Linked DNA regions of Homo sapiens: region 1 is linked to region 2. Evidence: promoter capture Hi-C in human tissues and cell types (Jung and others, 2019). All regions are on one chromosome and are shown on one strand. The core of a region is centred on a gene start or on the middle of the fragment in contact, and the rest is flanking DNA. Distances in the headings are between cores, read along the strand shown. Region 1 overlaps STRBP (spermatid perinuclear RNA binding protein). Region 2 holds the start of CRB2 (crumbs cell polarity complex component 2).

Region 1 (4,183 bases), core at 658-3,157, 160 kb after region 2:
CCCTGTATATTTTGGTTATTAATCTGTTGTCAGATGGATAGTTTGCATCTAATGGAACTATTTTCTTCCATTCTTTGGGTTGTCTCTTTACTTTGTTGATTGTTTCCTTTGCTTTGCAGAAGCTTTTCAACTTGATGTGATACCATTTGTCCATTTTTGCCTTGGTGGCCTTTGCTGTGGGGCATTACTCAATACAGCATTGCCCAGTCCAATGTCCTGGATAGTTTCTCAATGTTTTCTTTTAGTAGTTTTATAGTTTCAGGCCTTAGATTAATTCTTTAATCCACTTTGATTTGATTTTTGTATATGATGAAAGATAGGGGTCTAATTTCCTTCTTTCGCATATGGATATCCAGTTTTCCCAGCACCATTTATTGAAGACCCTGTCCTTTCCATAGTGTATGTTCTTTGAACCTTTGTCACAAATGAATATCCACTGGAGATGTATGGATTTACTTCTGGGTTCTCTATTATGTTCCATTGGTCTTTGTGTCTGTTTTTATATCAGCATGTGTCTGTTTTTATGCCAGCACTATGCTGTTTTTGTTACAACAGCTCTGTCATATAATTTGAAGTCAGATAATGTAATTCCTCCAGTTTTGTTCTTTTTACTCACGATAGTTTTGGCTAGTCTGGGTCTTTGGTGGTACTGTGTAAATTTTAGGATTTTATTTTTTTCTATTTCTGTGAAGACTGTCATTAGTATTTTAGCAGAGATTGCATTGAACCTGTAGATTGCTTTGGATGGTATGGACATTTTAACAATATTGACGCTTCCAATCCATGAATATAGAATATCTTTTCAATTTTTTTGTGTCCTCTTCAATTTCTTCCATCAGCACTTTATAGTTTTCATTGTAGAGATCTTTCACTTCTTTGGCTACGTTTAGTCCTAGGTATTTAGTTTTATTCACAGCCATTATAAATGGGATTATTTTCTTGATTTCTTTCAGAGTGTTTGCTGTTGGCATATAGAAATGCTACTGATTTTTGTATGTTGATTTTGTATCCTGCAACTTTACTGAATTTGTTTGTCAGTTCTAATAGTTTTTTTGGTGCAGTTTTCAGGTTTTTGCAAATATGAGATCATATTATCTGCAAATAAGGATAATTTGGCTTCTTTCCAATTTGAATGCTCCTTATTTCATTCTCTTGTCTGATTATTTTAGCTAGGACTTCCCAATAGTCAGATTTTAGATAGTGTTGTAAGGTATAGGTAACAGGATTTAATGATGGATCAGATGTGAGATGTGGGAGGAAGAAAGGAGTCAGGGATGACTTTCAAGTTTTTGGCATGAACAATTAAAGGGATGAAGTAGTTGCCTTCTCTTGAGGGAGGGAAGACCAGGAGGAGCAAACTTGTGTGGTTTTTTGTTTTGTTTTGTTTTGTTTTTTGTTTTTGATGCATTAGGTTTAAGATGCTTATTAAACATCCAAGTGGATGTGTTGATTATTTATTTGAATGTGAATTTGGAACTCAGGTCCATATGAATTTGGGAGATCCTCAGTATATAGATGGTATTTAAAGTCTCAAACCTAGATAACATTGCCAAGGGAATGTTGAAGGTAAGATAGAGAAGAGATGAAGTCTGAGGGCTGAGTCTTGAGGCACTTCAGCGTTTAGAGGTTGTGGAGATAAAGAAGAAAAGGATACAAGGGAGTAATTTATAAAGTAGGAGGAGAACTAAGAGAGTGGTGTCTTAGATGGAAGCCAAGGGGAGTAAAGTGTAGGGAACAGTCAACTGTGTCAACTGTTGCTGAGAAGTCAACTAAGAGGAGGACTGAGAATTATTCACAGCATTAAATACCATGGAAATCCTAGGGGACCTTGACAAGAGCTGTTTTGATGGAGCATTGGGATGAGAGGCTGATTGGGATGGTTTTAAGAGAGAATGGAAGGAGAGGAAATAAAAACCCAAAGTGTAAACTCAGTTATGCTCTAGAATGAGAGCAGAGAATTGGGCTAGTAGCTGTAGCAAAGCAAGAGGTCAAGGATGGTTTTTAATGTTTTTTCCCTTTTTATTTTTATTGATGGGTGCTATTACAACATGTGGGAATGCTGATAGAAATGACTCAGTAGAATGGGTAAAATGGATGATACAGGAGAGGAAAGAGAGAAGAGGGGATGATTACTGAGTGACATCCCAAGTAGGCAAAAGGAGGTGGGATCCAGTAGAGTTTGAGTTCAGGAATTTGCATTAGATAGGAATGGGGACAGTTCATTTATAATAACAGGAAGGAAGAATATATGGTTAATGATGCAGCAAGGTTGGCAATTTGCATGAAGTAGGAAGCAGGGTGACCTGTTGAATATGAAGAGGTAAGAGTATAGATGTTTGAAGAGACAAGAGAAGTGTGAGAAAATCATTAGGAGAGTGAGGAAGTGAATGAACATTTAACTTTTTCATTGAGGCTCCTACTTGCATTTTAGGTGGGACAGATCTTGGACACGGCAGGATATTTTGCATTCCAGGGTCCCAAATGCCAGGATTACCTACCTAGTCATTCTTACAACTAAAAAAACTTGACTTCACATTTTCACATCCCTTTAGAACTATTGATTATTGGGCCTTTTGAGGCTAATGGTCATGAAAAAGACTAATTAGCATGATTATGTGATACTTTTTTTTCTTAGTTATATTTAATGGTACATGGTTAATGATGTGGTGTGGCCAAGAGGCTTGGATTTAACAGGGTTAGAGTTTTGCTAGGAGAAGGAAAGAGAAGCAGTTGCTGGTATGAATGATAAATGATGGATCACGTAATTTCGGTTGGATAAGGACAGAAATGAGGGCATGAAAAGGATGAGGGACTGTGAAAAGTGGTAGCATTAGCGATTGTAGGTCCCGGTGGGGCGTGTTTGTCTAAAATAGGAAAGAAGATGAGAACATTGGAGGAAAGGAATACAAGGACTGGAGAAGCCTGAATTTTAGAAGGGTCATCTCTGCGGTTATTAAAATTCTAATATTTATGCCAGAAGTAAAGTTGAGTGTGTCACTGAGCTAAGTACAGCACTAAAGTCCTGAAGGAATGGGATAGGGTTTGGGGGATTAATCCAAGATGGAGAAGTCAAATAAGTAATGGAATTTGTGCTTATGGAGGACGAGTCAGAAATTCCCTGTTAGTCACTGTGGTGATGACTGCCATGGAAATAATGGGAAGAGATGGTGACCTTTTGGATGGAACCTCCTTAGATTCTGTGGTTATGGCACTCTAAGGAAGGATAAATTTAGGGTTGAATTCAAATTCTATTGAGCCTCTGCTGAGTGCAGGGCGATGTACTAGGTGCTGTGGAGATAATAGTAAATCATATCATTAAAACTGAGTAATAGAAATATAAAGGAAGCTGAAAAAGTGCTGGATGGCTCAAAGGAGGAAGAAATTATATAAACTGAAGTATTAGGTAAGGCTTCATGGAGGGGTAGATTTGAGATGGGCATTTGATGAATAGAACAATGACAAATCATGATGGCGTAGTGGCTGCAGTCCAGGTAAGGGAATCGTTTAACTCAAGCTTAGCGGTAGCACATTGCAAGGTGTTCTGGCATAGAGTCATTATTCCCGTGTTGACTGGAGCTGTGGTGGTGAGAGAAATGACAAGAATGACGATAGGACCTTGGATGCCACTGAATATTTGAGTTTAGTGCCAGTTGCTTAGGTAATTAGTGGTTATTGAAGGTTTTGAAGAGGAGTCTGATGTTCTCAAGGTAAAATTTTCCTCAATGATGGGCTGAAATGGGAATAGTATAGGAGAGGATAAATCCCCGTAAATGGTAAAACATAGTAAAACAACTTTACACAGTGGTATACAAGACTTCCAAATATGTAAGTATCCTTGAATTATTAGATATCTGTAGTAGTAAAACAAGGATTAAAACAAGATTCCTGTTCCTATGCACTATCCCCCTTTCCCTTTTTAAAAATTGAGATGGGGGTCTCTGTATGTTGGCTAGGCTAGGCATGAACTTCTGAGCTCAAATGACCCTCCCCTGAGCTCAAATGATCCTCCTACTTCAGCCTCCCGACGGACTATAGGCCTGTGTCACTGCACCCAGCCCTTTGTTTGAGTTTAATTTAGACATCTTGCCTCCTTTGTAATTTTTCTTTTGTTGACTTTCCAAATAGCACAGTCTCATTTTCCTGCCATCTCTCAGGTTATTCCTTCTTTGAGTATAGTTGTTCT
Region 2 (4,195 bases), core at 267-2,766:
CAGGGGACAGAGCACCGATCCACAGACCGGGATCTCACGTGCTTTGTATGCAGAGAACAGAGAGGAGCAGCCACCCCGCCCCCCGCCACCATGCCCCACCCCTCTATGGAGCCCAAGTCGCCTGCCAGCAGAGCCCAGCTCATAAGTCCCCGTCCCTCTCTGAGCCTTGGTTTCCTTCACTGCAAAATGGGGTCCTCATCCTCCCTAGGGCCCCATAGAGAGGATAGGAAATGAAAGCTTTGTGAGTGCGGGAAACATGAGGGTCCCCAGGTGGGACTGGGAGACACTTGGCCCCCACACCCTACAGCCTGTGGAGCTCTGGGGCAGGGAGGGCTCCCCCAGCCTCAGGAGAGCCCAGGCCCTCCTTGGCTCCCTCCCCAGCCTGTGGTGGTGGGGGCAGGGGACTTCCCAGGCCCGGCCCCTGTAACTATAGTAACTAACACCAAGCGTTCCCTTGGACCCCCCAGGAGGAATTCCAGGCTCCGAGAGCTTGGACAAAAGCAAAAAGGGCTTGGCAAATGTGGTCTGGCTTCAGGGAGCCCTTTCAGATTGGCCTTGGAATGCTGGGGAGGGGGCAGCAGGGGACACACACATGTTCCCAAATCCCCAGCCACCCCACAGGGACCCAGAGCATCCCCAGCAGCCCTCAGCACAGGCAGGGCTACCGCACAAATGGAGGGGTGCGGGCAGGCACCCAGCTCCCTGAGTCTCCCTCACGCTTCTCCACTCAGTCCCGAGTTGGGGTCGGCTGTGCACATCCCACACCCCTCATGTTGAGAGCAAAGACCTAGTTCAACCCTGGACAACCTACACCCCACAGCGTGTGCTAGGACACAGCTCACCACACCCAACTCCTCGGACACAACTCACGGCTCACCCCAGACAGCTCATCCACCTCCCAACTCTAACACACCCACAACCTGTGCCCCACAACCCAGCATGCGACACAGAACAAGCTCTGGGGTGAGGCTTATGCCACCTGCAACTCCCCAAACTCAGCCCCTAGAAACCCAGAAGTCCCCCAGCCCTTTACAGGATGCAACACAGCACCTCCCAAAACACGCACCCCATCCCTCACCCGCATCAGCTCCCCCAAATCATGCCCAGCCCCCGATCCCCCAACCCCGAAACTTACAACCCCCCTCAACATGAAACAGCCCCGAGCCTCAGAACACACTCACCTCCGTGGAGCCCCACAGAGTCTGGGGGCCACAGCCGCGCACTCCTGTGCACCCCACAGCTCAGGCCTGCACCCACGCGGACCAGCCCACCCACCACCCCAGCAGCCAAGGCTTGGGGTATCTGTCTTGGGGGACAGACCCTCTCCCAGGCCCCTCCAGACATGGGCCCCAACTCACCAGCCAGGAGGGAAAGGGCAGGGGCCCAGAGCAGCAGTAGCAGGACAGAGGCCAGGGCCTGGGGGTCCGGGGTCCCAGGCCTGGCCAGCGCCATGGCAGCCCGCTCTGCGCTCTGCTCGGCTGCTGTGAGAACGGGAGGGCGGCCTGGCTGGCTCCGCACCCCCCTCGTCCCTCCAACCAGCACTAATGCTGTGGACAGAGGCCCAGCCCCTCCCTCCCCTCCCCGCCACCGCCTCCTCCTCCCACCCAGGCCTCCTGGGCTGCTCCACCTCGTGGACGTCCCTAGACATCAGCCCCAAGTCCTCAAGCCCCCTAGCCTGTGGGGCTGACCTGGTCTTGGCACCCACTGGTTTCTCCCTCCTGACCCTCTGCCCCACTCTCCTCCCACCTCTCAGGTCAGCCTCCTTGGAGAAATTTCTGTCCTTGGAGAGGGGGCTGTTCAGGACTCTCGTCTCACCAGGTGATGCCAGCTACTCCCAAGTCCTTAGTTATCCCCTCTCCTGGATCCCCCTCCCCACCTCTCCAGCCCGGGCCTCTCTCCCAAGCCCAGGCCTTCGAGTCCAGTCGCCTCCCAGACCCTGTCTCTGCTGGGAAGCTGCAGCCCCTCCCACCCAGCTCGTCCCCCCACCTGCTGCTCCCCAGTGCTCCCATCGGAGCCAAGGCACCTCCCATCGGGCAGCCCAACGCCCCCTCCCCACTCCCCCCTCCCCACACTCGGTCAGCCCCTAGCTCCTGGCCATGCCACCTTCTCAGTGTCTCCTGCTGTCCCCACCCCGTCCCACCCGACCACACACAGCTCCTCCCACCATCGGCCTCAGGATCAGCTCCCTGCAGGGCACCTCACCCCTGCACCACGGTGGTCCCTGCCTCCCTTTACCCTCTCCACCCTTCACCAGCCAAACTGAACCTTTCCCAGCTTTCTTCCACTTGACCTTGATCTCTGGCTCTGCTGTTTGCAACTCCAGCGACCTCACTGCAATCCAAAGCAGCCCATTCTACTGAAAGGCAGCTCTAACCAAGCAAGCATTGCTCTCCCCTGCCAGGAAGTCCTTCTTGTTGTCTAACCTTATAGTCTCCTGCTGCACTCGATGTTTGCTTGCTCTCCAGCTGGCCTCTTGTTGGGGTGGACAGGAGGAGCTCTTCAGGGGGACCTGGTTCAGGAAGCCAGGTCATCTCAGAGACACTACAACATAGAACAACATTCCTTTCTTCTACCACCCTCAGCCCCAGTGGGGAGAGAATCCTCTTGCTGAAGGGACTTTCCTGAAATGAGCCACCGGCCCCTGCCAATACATGCCTGTTTGTCCCTATTCAGTAACCGTGGATACAGCCCACGCAGGCCCTGGGCTCTGGGATGTGTCCCTGACACGGGAGGACACAGCCTGGAAAGACAGCAGGAGCCATTGAGGGAGGTCCAGATGAGCTAGAGGGATGGGCAAGGGTCCCCTGCAGTGCAGGGGAGGGAGCAGTGGGCACCACACAGGCCCTGGCCGACCCTCTAGCCCGGGGCAAGTGCCACAGCCCTGGGTCCCCAGGGACCAAAGGAGGGAACCCAAAAAGGCCTGGGTAGACTCCTTATCCACTGCCCCTGCCCCATCCCTGCCCTTGAGGCCTGTTCTCTCCAGGGCAGGGATTGCCCCTTGGTTTCTGGGACACTAACCTCTCTCAGTCCATCTTTAATCCCCTGCCTCTCCAATACAACAGGATCCCTCTCCCCAGGTGGGAGAAGCCCCTCTCCATGCCACAGGAAAAGCAGAGGCCTCACAGCGTAAGAGATCTGGGTTCGAGCCCAGCTCAGCCACTGATTAGCCGGTGACCTCAGCACGTGACTTCCTTCTCTGGGCCTCAGTCTCCTCACCTGTAAAATGGTGGCGTTAGTGAGCCAAGGCGACAGTGCCAGCTCTCTTTATCCAGCTTCTCAGTGATCCCCCAGAGACCCAGGCAATCCCAATGGGGGGCTGGGGGGAGCACGGCAAGTCAACCACCACCCTCTGGTTCTCTGGATGCACAGACACAAACTCCCACACTTTCACAGAGCGGGGAGGTCACCCGGCGCAGGTCCAGTCTCCTCTGCAGCCCGGCCCCCAGCACTGTCCTGCAGCCGCCACACTCCACCTTGTGGCCAGACCTGGAAGTGTCTTGTGAGGTCTGGAGGGTATGGAGGGGGGCTCCCCCGACAGCACCGGGTACAGGAGTCCCACGTGACGGGGAGGAAGCCAGGGAGTCGCTGGACAGCAGGCAGGACGGAGGTCAGACAAGGGCACACCATCTTGACCGCTCCCTGGTCCGGATCTGGAGAAGGCAGTAAGAGTGGGCCAGCTCCTCTGAGATGGTCCCCCAGGTGCATCCACTTCCCCTGTCCTCCCCACCTGGGAAGGGAATCGACATAACCTCAGTTTACCCCCCCCCCACCCACCAGCAGCACTGCAAAGTCAGCATTGGCCCCATTCTATGGATGAGGAAACCGAGGCACAGAGAGGTGAGCAGCCCAGCACCAGTGCCTGGCAGGATTCGAGTTGGGTCTGCCCGACTCCAGCCTTTCCACTGGTGAACCTCCGACTGCAGGTTACTAACTGCCCCTCCACTAGCCTGAGCATGACTTGCTGCCACCTCCCTGGCTGAGGGGACGCTGTCCTGGGCCGGGATTCCCACCAACTCTCAAGCTGATGGGCACATGCGACAGCAAGGTTCAGTGGTTGGGAGTCCCAGCTTTGGCATCAGGCAGACCTGGGTTTGAATCCGGTTCCTGCTCTCTGCCCTTAGGTGAGCTTTTGTTGGTCTGTTCCTTTTCTGCGTCTTAGTTCTCCCATCTGTAAATGGGATCATCACAGCATCTG

What was found. The method cuts DNA at HindIII sites, captures the fragments that hold promoters and counts their contacts. A contact is called where the count stands out against the background at its distance.
Region 1: a fragment that was not itself captured here is called in contact with the fragment with the promoter of CRB2 in region 2 in 3 of the 25 tissues and cell types used here (aorta, mesendoderm cells and thymus).

What each region holds. Positions count from the first base shown.
Region 1 is chr9:123,192,333-123,196,515 of GRCh38, reverse strand. The region is part of intron 2 of STRBP (spermatid perinuclear RNA binding protein); the gene reads left to right. Among named protein-coding and RNA genes, the nearest start is that of STRBP, 74 kb to the left of the region's middle. The HindIII fragment of the contact is 5,762 bases long and covers 1-4,183 here.
Region 2 is chr9:123,353,518-123,357,712 of GRCh38, reverse strand. It overlaps CRB2 (crumbs cell polarity complex component 2), which reads right to left and starts at 1,516. Exons shown (of 13, transcript NM_173689.7): 1 at 1,359-1,516. The coding sequence starts at 1,452. RefSeq lists enhancers at 3,216-3,385, 3,054-3,553 and silencers at 3,516-3,565, 3,586-3,695. The HindIII fragment of the contact is 16,000 bases long and covers 1-4,195 here.